Regions from separate parts of the Homo sapiens genome. Here regions 2 and 3 are each linked to region 1. Evidence: promoter capture Hi-C in 16 types of primary human blood cells and fetal thymus (Javierre and others, 2016). All regions are on one chromosome and are shown on one strand. Each heading gives the region's core, a stretch centred on a gene start or on the middle of the fragment in contact. The rest is flanking DNA. Distances are from core to core; before and after follow the strand shown. Region 1 holds the start of ARL9 (ARF like GTPase 9). Region 2 has its middle 41 kb from the start of SPINK2. Region 3 has its middle 16 kb from the start of SPINK2.

Region 1 (3,958 bases), core at 630-3,129:
TAGACTAATGTCATCTTAGGCCCTATAAAATAGTGTGAATTAAAAGCAGTTCCCAGGCCGGGCACAGTGGCTCATGCCTGTAATCCCAGCACTTTGGGAGGCCAACGCGGGTGGATCGCTTGAGCTCAGGAGTTGAAGACCAGCCTGGGCAACATGGCGAAACCCCATCTCTACCAAAAATACAGAAATTAGCTAGGCACGGCGGTGTGCACCTGTAATCCCAGCTACTTGGGAGGCTGAGGTGGGAGGATGACTTGAGCCTGGGAGGTGGAGGTTGCAGTGAGCCGAGATCACGCCACTGTACTCAAGCCTGGGCGACAGAGCCAGACTCTGTCTCAAAAAAACAAAAACAAAAATATCAGTTCCCTTTCCAACCACGTTGCTGTCCCTACGCCCATCCTACCTAGAAATTCTGCATTCAGGCTTCCTCACATTTACCTTCTCCTAAGGAAAGCTGAATTTGTAAAACAGTTCAGACACAAAATGTGATTCTGAACACCGTTTTTGTCAAAAGTTATTCCTTTAGCCAAATATGAGTCTATGTAGTCTGTGTTTTACCAGAGATCAAATCTCTGTTAATCCGTGGTGGCTCACGCCTGTAATCCCAGCGCTTTGGGAGGCTGAGGCGGGCGGATTGCTGGAGCCCAGGAGTTTGAGATCAGCCTGAGCTACATGGCGAAACTCCAGCTCTGCACAAAAATACAAAAATTAGCTGGACATGGTGGCGTGTGCCTGTAGTGCCAGTCACTGAGGTTGGGAGATGGGGGCGGTGCCAGGCTGAGGTGGGAGGATCCCTCCAGCCTGAGAGGCAGAGTAAGACCCTGTCTCAAAAAAGAACACACACACACACACACACACACACACACACACACACACACACACAACTGTGTTAATCATTCATAATTGTTTAGAACCAGAGCGCAGCTCTAAGCCAAGGAGCCAGCTCAGGAACTCCAGGAGCACAGAGACCATTCAGCTGACCCAAATAATGCCAAGTTTCTAAGACCTGTCAGTTAAAACTTTTCCGCCATCCATTCATGGTACTGGTGGTCTGAAAACAACTGCAGCGTCCCCAAACACCTCCTGCGTTCAGGAACCCTGCCCCTTCTGACAAAGAACGCATTCAATGCAAAGAGGGCCTGCGTGTGGGGAGGGTTCGGGGCTGGTTTCTAAATGTGGTCAGGTGGTCTGTGCGCTAGTGTTGCGCGCTGGACAGATCTAAGGGCAGTAGAGGGGCCGTTCCCCATGTCCCCATGAAGACCGAGATCTCTTGTCCCTCAACAACAGACCCGACTGAGGTTAAGACACAGGGGTAGCGATAAGGGCTAGGGTGGGCAGGGGGCCCGGGAAAAGGGGATGGGTCGTTCAAAGTTTGGCGCATCTCTTTCATCCATAGGTAAATAGCCCTCAGTTGAGATCCATTCGCTCCCACGCGGTCGGGGGCCTCCGACGTAACAGAGACAGCGCTGGGGTCTGAACGGCCGACAAAAGCCTTGGGGCAAGGGGTCCTGGGCACTGGGTCTCTTACCAGCGGCTCGAGCGGGGTCCTTGTCAAGGTGCTGTCCTTGTTCTCCCCTTTCTCTTCTTGTCCCTTAAATTGTTCCTTCTCTTTGTTTGTCTCCTTCCCTTGCTTTGTCCTCTTTTCCTCTTTCTCTTTTCCCTTTCTCCTCTCCTGCTTCTCTTGCTTTTGTTTAATTTTCTGCTCCACCTCCTTTCTTTTCACTTTCTCTTCCCTACCCTTTTCTCCGATTTTCTCCTCCTGCGTCTCCTTTTCCTTCTCTTTCTTCTTCACTTTCCCCCTCTCCATCCCCAGCGCCGCGGTTTCCTTCCCTCCCGCCGCGTGCCCGCGTGCTGAGCGGTGGCTCTGGGCCCCAGGTGTGGCTCCCGAGGTGCACGCCCGACAGAGACGTAGGCCCCGCGGCGTAGACAACCCGCGGGCGCTGCCAACCCCGGCACCGCCGCCAACCGCCGCTTACCTCGCGGATGCAGGGCTTCTTGCAGCCGATTCGCTGAACCCGCAGGGGTTCGCAAAGAGGGAAGGGCGGAGGCGTACGGATGGATTGAGCCCAGCCAAGCGAAACCAAGAGGTCCCAACCAGGACGTGGGACAGTTCGGCGGGGTATATCATTGCTGCAGAAAAAGCGTCCCTAGCGCGATTACCTCGGGCCAGGCAGGGTGGCTAAGAGCCTTCCACGTGGGCCGCAGTCTAAGCAACCTTAGCGTCTGACGTCTCCGGCTTCAATCCCGAGACCGGCCAGCCTGTGTGAAGAACCCCTGGGGCGTCAGAATCCAGAGGTTCCGGGAGGATTCTCAGCCTTCCCTCAGCTCCCAACCATGAGCCTGTACTGCTCATGTCATGTATTTCTCCGCCCTCTCCCGAGTAAACTCCGCTAGGAGTGTCTCCAGACTACTACCCAGGATTATTAGTTGACTATTACCCAGGATTATTAAAGACAAATAGAAGAACGTGAATGGGTTCCATTGTTTTAAGTTCCTGTTTTGTTTTTGAGACGGAGTCTCTGTCACCCAGGCTGGAGTGCAGTGGTGCGATCTCAGCTCACAGCAACCTCCGCCTCCCGGATTCAAGCGATTCTCCTGCCTCAGACTCCCAAGTAGCTGGGATTACAGGCGTGGGCCACCACGCCCGGCTAATTTTTGTATTTTTAGTAGCGACGGGGTTTCACCATGTTGGCCAGACTGGTTTCAAACTCCTGACCTCAAGTGATCCTCCCCGCCTCTGCCTCCCAAAGTGCTGGGATTATAGGCATAAGCCGCCGTGCCCGGCCTGTATTTCACTTTAAAAAAAATTATTCGGAGATAGCCTGCCAGGATCACAGCTGCTAGTAATGCTCAGTATTAAAACCAAAACCAAATAGTCTAGTCACTTCTAATTATCTAATAAATGGTAAATAAGGCACACGAAGGGCTTTTCAAAGGTGGTATTGTTTCTCAAACTGGCTAAGAAATATCTGGAGGGTTCCTTTTATCTTGCTAAACTGAACTCTTTAGTATATTTCAGTTTAGCACAATTATATATTTTTTGAGACAGTCTCGCTCTGTCGGCCAGGCTGGAGTGCAGTGACACAATCTCGGCTCACTACAACTTCCACCTCCCGGGTTCAAGCAATTCTCCTGCCTCAGCCTCCCGAGTAGCTGGGATTACAGGCATGTGCCACCATGCCCAGCTAATTTTTGTATTTTTAGTAGAGACGGAGTTTCACCATGTTGGCCAGGCTGGTCTCGAACTCCTGACTTCAGGTAATCCGCCTGATTGGGCCTCCCAAAGTGCTGGGATTACAGGCATGAGCCACCGCACCCGTCCAGCACAATTATTTTTTGAGACGGAGTTTCACTCTTGTTGCCCAGGCTGGAGTGCAGTGGTCCGATCTCAGCTCACTGCAACCTCTACCTCCCAGGTTCAAGCGATTCTCTTGCCTCAGCCTCGCACGTAGCTGGGATTACAGGCATGAGCCACCATGCCTGGCTAATTTTGTATTTTTAGTAGAGATGGGGTTTCTCCACGTTGGTCAGGCTGGTCTCGAACTTCTGACCTGAGGTGATCTGCCCGCCTCGGCCTCCCAAAGTGCTGGGATTACAGGTGCGAGCCACCGTGCCCGGCCACAATTATTTTTCAATGTAATAAACTTATTTTCCTTCATTGTATCTGTTTCAAATAGACTTGTAAGGAACAATGAATAGCAGGTTCCAGAAGGCTTGAGTGATGCAATGATATTTAAGGTTGGCTGTTCCCAATAGCATTGGAATTGCTATGCTTAATGACTTTTTCAAAGGTTTACTTCTGTTTATACACACACCAAGATGAATTTTCAGTAAGTTTACACGGGGTTCTCTCAATCCCATTAGATTAGTTTTATGGGTTTGCTAAGAGGGACAGTACACACAATTTTGATACTCAGCTTAAAAGAAAATTCTTGGTTATACTAACCAGGAAGTCCTC
Region 2 (4,499 bases), core at 1,215-3,714, 270 kb before region 1:
AAAAAAAAAAAAAAAAAAAGAAGTTATATCACTTACGTCTTCCTGACTCCATTCCATTTGGAGGTGCTAAGTGTCCAAATACACCTAAGGTACAATCAGTGATTGCTGTGGTCTGAATGTTTGTGTCCCTCCAAAATTCATAAGTTGAAATTCTGACCCCTAAGGTGATGGTAGTAGGAGGTGGGGCATTTGGCAGGTGATTAGAACAAGAGGACAGAGCCCTCACAAATGAGATTCCAGAGAGCTAGCTGGCCTTTTCACCCTGTGAGGACACAGTAAGAAGGTAGCCAGCTATCACCAGTTATGGACTAGAGGGCAGGCCCTCACCACATATCAAATCTGCTGATGCCTTAATCTTGGACTTCCCAGCCTCCAAAACCGTGAAAAATAAACTTCTGTTGTTTATCTCAATTTATGGGATTTTGTTGCGACAGCTTTAACGGACTAAGACAATGGCTACGTATTTGTTTCTAAGCCATACCAGTGTGTCCGTGAGTTAATCAGTCACCTGAACGGAAGCACAGCAGAGATGAACTTAGATCTTTTTCATCCTGCTTGAGAAGACCCAGTTAAATGAGGAGAAGCATGGGCTGCTTGGCAGTCAATCTTTCCAGAAAATTCTCAAGACAGACCTTCAGACTGTGCCTGTCGTATCTTCGCCAGCACTACCAGTTTCTTTGCTTTGGAAAGTGAGAGCTACCTCCTGCCGTCATTAGATTTAGCTCAGTGATGTCTTCTCAACAGAAAACCCAAGCCTCCAAGAAGCTTGCATCCACAAAATCCATTTGGCTCCAACAAATCTTATTTCATGGCTCCTGGCAATCGGGTTTGTGTGTCTAATTTCCTCAAGCCAATTTACAAGCATTATAGTCTCATAATTACAAAGTTCTCTGTATCCCAAGCCCAGGAATCAATTTGGTGAGTTGGTGCATGCCCCAGGGTTTACTTCTGCTGCAGTCCATCACAGCTCTCTTTCTTCTTAGAAAAGCACCAATTCATCCAAGACAGAAAACAGCTCCTAAGCAGGCCAGGACAATTCTCAAGGCGCCAATGACTAATGTGAGGCAGTGGGGGATGGGGAGCACCTCTATTTTCTTTCTCCAGTCCACCCAGATCCAGATCCACATCCTGTTCTTGCATAGGTATAGGAGGCCCTATGCAGAACTGCAAAGCCTACAAAGGATCTGCACCCTGGGATTCTCTGTTCTGTCTTTTCTCCACTCAGGGAGCCTCCTTCCCAACTTCCATGTACCTGTTACTCTCCACCTCTCCATCCAACCTATCTCTTGTTTTAAAAATTCCTCCGCTTACCGGGCGCGGTGGCTCACGCCTGTAATCCCAGCACTTTGGGAGGCCTAAGTGGGTGGATCATGAGGTCAGGAGATGGAGACCATCCTGGCTAACACGGTGAAACCCCGTCTCTACTAAAAATACAAAAAATTAGCCGGGCGTGGTGGCGGGCGCCTGTAGTCCCAGCTACTTGGGAGGCTGAGGCAGGAGAATGGCGTGAACCCGGGAGGCAGAGCTTGCAGTGAGCCGAGATCGCCCCACCGCACTCCAGCCTGGGCGAAAGAGCGAGACTCCGTCTCAAAAAAAAAAAAAAAAATTCCTCCGCTTGGGCTGGGTGCGGTGGCTCATGCCTGTAATCCCAGCACTTTGGCAGGCCAAGGCGGGCGGATCACGAGGTCAGCAGTTAGAGACTAGCCTCGCCAGCATGGTGAAACTCCGTCTCTACTAAAAATACAAAAATTAGCCAGGGCCTGGCGGTGGGCACCTGTAATCCCAGCTACTCAGGAAGCTGAGGCAGGAGAATCGCTTGAACCCCGGGAGGCAGAGGTTGCAGTGAGCTGAGACTGCGTCATTGCACTCCAGCCTGGGCAACAGAGTGAGACTCTGGCGTCTAAAAAAAAAAAAAAATTTCTGTGCTCTTTTGGTTAGGTCAAAGGATAAAAGGCTGATAGTAACTCAAAATATTTCTTTTCTCAAATCGGTCTCCATTTTAGCAAAGAATAAGATTTCAGGTTAAAGAAATGGAAGGAGTATTTAAAGTGGAATACCAGGTAGGACCCTGCAACAGCAGATGGGGAAGATTTGCAGGGAGCTGCTTGGGCCTTTAAAATCACACTTGGAGGCAAAGGTAAAATCCACCTGCTCTAAAACCAGCCCTGTCTACAGGCTTTGGAGCAAAAATGCCTGACTTTGTTTTGGGTTAGATCCTACAGAGATTCTTCCAGCCCTGAAAAAATTCTCCGTGGTTTTATAAGCTTATAATTTCTAGTGATGATTACACAAAGGCATCTCCTGGGATTTCCCACGGGCTGCCTCCCCACCGCCCCCACTATCTCCTCTTCTCTGTCCAAAATGCATATGGAGCTCTGGCTAAATAGATTGGGCTCATGGATTAGCTTACCCACCCAGGGTGTTTGGCAACATTGGATATGTCATGCTTGCATGGGCATCAAGTGGCTGAATCCACTGAACATACATTTAGCCTCTGTTTCAGTCTTTATGATATGTGCTGGGGATTCAGAGATGAAAAGACACAGTCCCTACCATTGATGAGTTTATAGCCCAGTGGGTAGACAGTCATGTGAACAGATAAAAACTAGTGTATCTTGAACAAATTTCAATACACATACTTGGGTATGCAAGAAACAAAGCTTTTCTAATTTTTGTTCTAAGTGAACTTGATTATTCTTACTATTATTTTTTGAGATGGGATCTCACTATGTTACTCAGGCTAATGTCTAACCCCTGGGCTCCAGCAATCCTCCCACCTCAGCCTCCGCAAGTAGTTGGGATTAAATGTGCACACCACTGTGCCTAGCTTAATAAACTTGACTTTCAGCTTGAGTCCCCATTCTGCCTAGTGGCAGAAATGTAATCTTTAGCCAATAGGGCTTTCTCAGCCAATCAAACTCTTGCCTCTCTCCTCTTCACCGCAGGGTTGCATCTCAATTCTGAGTGCTATGTTGATGCATCCTGGTGCGGTCGGGGAGAGACTAGGTGGTGTCAAGAGCTCAATGGCCACATTCTTATATATTTATTTATTTTAATAAATGTTGATTTTAAAATTAGAGATAGGGGTCTTGATATGTTATCTAGGCTGGTCTTGGACTTCTGGCTCAAGTGATCCTCCTGCCTCAGCCTCCCAAAGTGCTGGGATTATAGGCCTGAGCCACCATGCCCGGCCTCAATGGCCACATTTTATCTGACCTTTGGTTGTTCTTCGTCTTTCTCACTGGAATCTCTTGAGATGTTTATTTTCTCATCAGATCTCTGGTCAGAATGTCCAGGGGATTATCTGTTGCCATGTTCCTTCTTCCTAATCCTAAGTCATCTGCTCTCTCAGTTGCCTTCACACATCTCCCAGGGAATGGGAAATATTTGGCTGCTTGTTCACCTGATTAGAAGGATATAGGTAGGGTAGTGGGGCAGTTTCATGTGCTCTTGGCTTCAACATTTATGACCTATGCCCAGCCCATGCTGGATGCAAGAAGCCTATATGAGACTGACTTTTGTTTTATTTTATCTTTTTGGGACAGGGTCTTGTTCTATTGCCCAGGCTGGAGTGCAGTGGCAGATTATGTCTTACTGCAGCTTCCACCTTCTGGGCTCAAGCCATCCTCCTTTCTCAGCCTCCTGAGATTAGCTGAGACTACAGGCACGTGCCACCTGGTCTGGCTAATTGTTTTATTTTTTGTAGGGATGGGATCCTACTATGTTGCCCAGGCTGGTCTCAAACTCCTAACTTCAAGCAATCCTCCCACCTCGGCCTCCCAAAACACTGGGATTGCATGTATGAGCCACGTGCCTGGTGGAGACTGATGTTTAGCAACAGATTCCCTCCACTTTGGAGACCCCAGACAATCTGGAATGTCTTTTATTTCCCCTTGCTCCTCTGTAGACTTGGAATGGTGCAAGATAGGATACTTATTGGAATTATTTCTGTTCCTCCACCCTGTCAGGGGATCTTTATATCCTCTAGAGTGAGGCAAACTTTTTTTTTTTTTGAGACAGAATCTTGCTGTGTTGTCCAGGCTGGAGTGCAGTGGTGCGATCTCAGCTCACTGCAACCTCCGCCTCCTGGGTTCAAGCGATTGTCCTGCCTCAGCCTCCTGAGTAGCTGGGATTACAGGCACCCAAAACCACACCCGCCTTGGCCTCCCAAAGTGCTGGGATTACAAGTGTGAGCCACCATGCCCTACCTAGAGTGGGGCAAACTCTTACATGAGCATGTCTTCTTCCAAACTCATTGATTATAGAAATACTTTACTGCTCTAAATTCTTTGGGATTTTAGCTTCTGATGTTCAAAAGCCAGATTCTTATGCTTGAAAGAAAGGATTTTTAGACTAAATATATTTTCCTTTAGGCTACTGCTTCTGGAATGAGTTTCACAGTCTACATTTTTTTTTTTTTTTTTTTGAGATGGAGTGTCCCTCTTGTCGCCCAGGCTGGAGTGCAATGGTGCAATCTCAGCTCACTGCAACTTCTGCCT
Region 3 (4,303 bases), core at 1,045-3,544, 300 kb before region 1:
AAACTGTTTAGCATAGTGCTTGACATATAGAAGCCACTGAAATAGGTGCTACTATTGTTTCAGACACCCCTCCTAGAGAGGAGAAAACAGGCCCACAAAGGCAAACACATTTGCCTAAGGTGATAGAACTGAGCCTGGGCCTGCATGGTGGCTCTTGCCTGTAATCCCAGCACTTTGGAAGGCCAAGGCAGGCAGATCACGAGGTCAAGAGTTCGAGACCAGTCTGGCCAATATGGTGAAACCTCGTCTCTACTAAAAATACAAAAAGTAGCTGGGCGTGGTGGCACGTGCCTATAACCCCAGCTACTCGGGAGGCTGAGGCAGGAGAATCGCTTGAACCCAGGAGGTGGAGGTTGCAGTGAGCTGAGATCACACCACTACACTCCAGCCTGCGTTGACAGAGCAAGACTCCATCTTGAAAAAAAAAAAAAAGAGTCATATATACTTTTTGGAAAATTGAAAAATACAGACCGGGTGCAGGGGCTCACCCCTGTAATGCCAGCACTTTGGGAGGCTGAGGCAAGAGGATCATTTGAGGCCAGAAGTTCGAGATCAGCCTGGGCAACACAGAAGACCCCGTCTCTATTAAATAAATAAATAAATGAAAAAAAAATAGATACAGAAGTATATAAAAATAGAGTGAAAGTCTTGCCCATCCTAGCCTCCAGAGGCACCCAAAACTGTTTTGAAATGTCTTTTTCTCTAAGTACACGTGTATACAAAATTACACATGTGCACACACAAGTCCTGTAAACTTGCTTTTACTCTTTAAATATTGGGTTTGTTTTCATGTTGATATATATTGTTTCTTCTTTTTTAAAAAAATTTATTATTATTTTTTTGAGACTGAGTCTTGCTCTGTGGCCCAGGCTGGAGTGCAGTGGCATGATCTCTGCTCACTGCAACCTCTGCCTCCCGGGTTCAAGCGATTCTCCTGCCTCAGCCTCTGGAGTAGCTGGGATTGGAGGCCTGCCACCACTACACCTGGGTAATTTTTGTATTTTTAGTAGAGACAGGGTTTCACCATGTTGGCCAGGCTGGTCTGGAACTCCTGACCTCAAGGGATCTGCCTCATTGGCCTCCCAAAGTGCTGCAATAACAGGCATGAGCCACCGTGCCCAGCCTGTTTCTTCTTTTAAACAGCTACACAGTATACTGTTATTGTGCCATAATTTATCCAGTCTCTATTGACCTATATCTGGATTATTTATTAGGATTCTCTTGATTGAAAGTGGGAAATCCCAACTCAAACTAGCCTAAGCTAAAAGGGGAATTAATTACTTCCTTGATATAGTGAAGTGACTAAGCACACTGGTTCAAAGCCAGATATCTGCATTCACTGACCAAATTACTGCTTAACTCAGTTTCCTCATTTATAAAGTGAGGAAGATAATAGTATCTACTTAAGATAATGCATGTAAGGTGCTTAGGACACTTGAAATGTTGGCTGTATTATAGAAAACTATACCTTTTTTTGCAAAAACAGTTTGCTCTTTTGACTTAATATTTCATGGATGTTTTTCCAAATCTATACATATAGATCTACATCATTGAAAACACTTGCATAGTATTCTGTTATATAGACATACCATAATTTGTCTATTCAATCTCATCCTGATAGACACTTACATTATTTCTCATTTTTCACTATCACTAATGCTGAAATTATGTCTTTTATTTTTATTTATTTATTTATAAATTTTTATTTATTTTTTGAGGTGAAGTTTTGCTTGTGTTGCCCAGGCTGGAGTGCAGTGGCACGATCTCAGCTCACTGCAACCTCCGGCTCCCGGGTTCAAGTGATTCTCCTGCCTCAGCCTCCTGAGTAGCTGGGATTACAGGCATGCGCCATGATGCCCAGCTAATTTTTTGTATTTTTAGTAGAGATGGGGTTTCATCATGTTGGCCTTGCTGGTCTTGAACTCCTGACCTCAGGTGATTCACCCGCCTCGGCCTCCCAAAGTGTAGTGATTATAGGTGTGAGCCACCGCACCTGGCCTATTTATTTTTTAAAAAGTGAAAAATTTTCTTTTAATAGAGATGGGTCTCACTATATTGCCCAGGCTGGAGTGCAGTAGCTGTTCACAGGTGAGATCCTGCTACTCATCAGCACCGGGATTTTGACCTGCCCTGTTTCCAACCTGGGCCGGTTCACCCCTTCTTAGGCAACCTGGTGGTCCCCTGCTCCCAGGAGGTCACCATATTGATGCCAAACTTAGTGTGGACACCCATAGGGATAGCACACTACAGCCCAGAACTCCTGGACTCAAAACGATCCTCCCACCTCAGCCTCCGGAGTAGCTGGGACTACAGACATGTGACACCATGCCTGGCTAAACTTATGTCTTTGTACTCATGCCCTTCCTTCTTTGTGCACATTCTGTAGGACAAATGCATAAGATTGGCATTACTTGGTCAGAAGATACACAAATTTAAAACATTGAAAGAGATTTCAAAATATTTTTGAAAAGCGTGTACCTATCTACATCCTCTGTGACAAATGAGTGCCTAGTTCTTCTTTCTAATACCGTTGAGTTAAAGAAGTAGTGCTGCCCCGAATCTGCTCAGTTAGAGTTGTTCTGTATACTCAGTTTGCATCCATTCTTTTTTTTTTTTTTTGAGACAGAATCTCTCTCTGTCAGCCAGGCCAGAGTGCAGTGGCGCCATCTCGGCTCACTGCAACCTCCATCACTGGGGCTCAAGCAATTCTCCTGCCTCAGCCTCTAGAGTAGCTGGGATTACAGGTCCCCACCATCACACCCGGCTAATTTTTGAATTTTTAGTAGAGACGGGGTTTCACCATGTTGGCCAGGCTGGTCTCGAACTGTAGACCTCAGGTGATCTGCCCGCATCAGCCTCCCAAAGTACTGGGATTACAGGCATGAGCTACTGCACCTGGCTAGCATTCATTCTTTATTGAAAAATTCGTTTTTTCCCTTTAATCTTCTTCTTTTTTTTCTTTTCTTTTCTTTTTTTTTTTTTTTTTTTTTTTTTTTTTTTTTTTGAGACAGAGGCTCGCTCCAGGCTGGAGTGCAGTGGAGCGATCTCAGCTCACTGCAATCTCTGCCTCCAGGGTTCAAGTGATTCTCCTGCCTCAGCCTCCCGAATAGCTGGGGTTACAGGCACACACCACCATGCCTGGCTAGTTTTTGTATTTTTAGTAGAGATGAGGTTTCACCTTGTTGGCCAGGCTGGTCTAATGTTCTTTAAAAGTGGCATAGTAATTATAGTTGTCTCAAGTAAATGGTGAGAAGAAAGTTCAACAGTCTATGGAGAGTTCTAGAATAGAAGCTGCCCAAGGATGGAGATCCTCTAAGTCTTGCTCATCATGGTATTTTCAGTGCCCAGAATAGCACCTAGCACAGTGCATATTTGTTGGTTGAGGACATGAAAATACAGCTTAGGAAGCTCACAAAATAATGACAACAAAACCACTAACCTCCATGAATTTCCTTCCTGCAAGAACAGGCAAGATAACTCAAACCAGAAATCCCACACACCACAAAGAAAACAACGTTTTGACTTGCCCAACAGTGAATTTCATTTTTTCCTATGTTACTCTGAAAAAGATAACAATGCTTCATGCCCAGAAGATTTTGAACAGTTCCAGGAGCATACCTTAAACTGGTTTAGATTCTTCTTTGTTATTTAATTAATTAATTTATTTGAGATGGAATCTTGCTCTGTTGCCCAGGCTGGAGTGCAGTGGTGTGATCTCGGCTCACTGCAACCTCCACCTCCCAGGTTCAAGCAATTCTCTTGCCTCAACCTCCCGAGTAGCTGGGATTACAGGTGCCCACCACCAAACCCTGCTAATTTTTTGTATTTTTTAGTAGAGACGGCGTTTCACCATATTGGCCAGGCTGGTCTTGAATTCCTGACCTCGTGATCCACCCCCTTCAACCTCCCAAAGTGCTGGGATTACAGATGTGAGCCACCGTGCCCGGCCCTTTTTTTAATTTTAAAAATTATTCTTAATTTTTGTAGAGATGAGGCCTGGCCATGTTGCCCAGGCTGGTCTTGAACTCCTGAGCTCAAGCAGTCCACCTGCCTTGGCCTCCCAAAGCTCTGGGATTACAGGCATGTGCCACAGCACCCGGCCCTGCCTTAGATTTTTTTAATGACAAAAAATCTTTACGTCTGATCATTCACTCATTTATGTCGTACACACTTACAGATATCTACCATGTGATGAGCATGGGGTATACAATGACAAATGACCCTTAGCTCCTGTACATGCAGAACTTATAGGATCATTCTTTTTTCTCTGAAAAGCAGAACAACTCTCACTTCTGAAAACCAA

What was found. Contacts are between HindIII fragments. The CHiCAGO score rates a contact against its expected background, and 5 or more counts as called.
Region 2: a contact is called between a fragment that was not itself captured here and the fragment with the promoter of ARL9 in region 1, in 1 of 17 cell types (M1 macrophages). The highest score is 5.1, in M1 macrophages.
Region 3: a fragment that was not itself captured here is called in contact with the fragment with the promoter of ARL9 in region 1 in 2 of 17 cell types (total CD4 T cells and non-activated CD4 T cells); the score reaches 6.1 in total CD4 T cells.

Annotation. Positions count from the first base shown.
Region 1 is chr4:56,503,712-56,507,669 of GRCh38, reverse strand. It overlaps ARL9 (ARF like GTPase 9), which reads right to left and starts at 1,879. Exons shown (of 4, transcript NM_001363794.2): 1 at 1,529-1,879. The coding sequence starts at 1,807. The HindIII fragment of the contact is 16,175 bases long and covers 1-3,958 here.
Region 2 is chr4:56,778,192-56,782,690 of GRCh38, reverse strand. No RefSeq gene overlaps it. Among named protein-coding and RNA genes, the nearest start is that of SPINK2, 41 kb to the left of the region's middle. The HindIII fragment of the contact is 396 bases long and covers 2,267-2,662 here.
Region 3 is chr4:56,803,865-56,808,167 of GRCh38, reverse strand. It overlaps the pseudogene RN7SL357P. Among named protein-coding and RNA genes, the nearest start is that of SPINK2, 16 kb to the left of the region's middle. The HindIII fragment of the contact is 8,095 bases long and covers 1-4,303 here.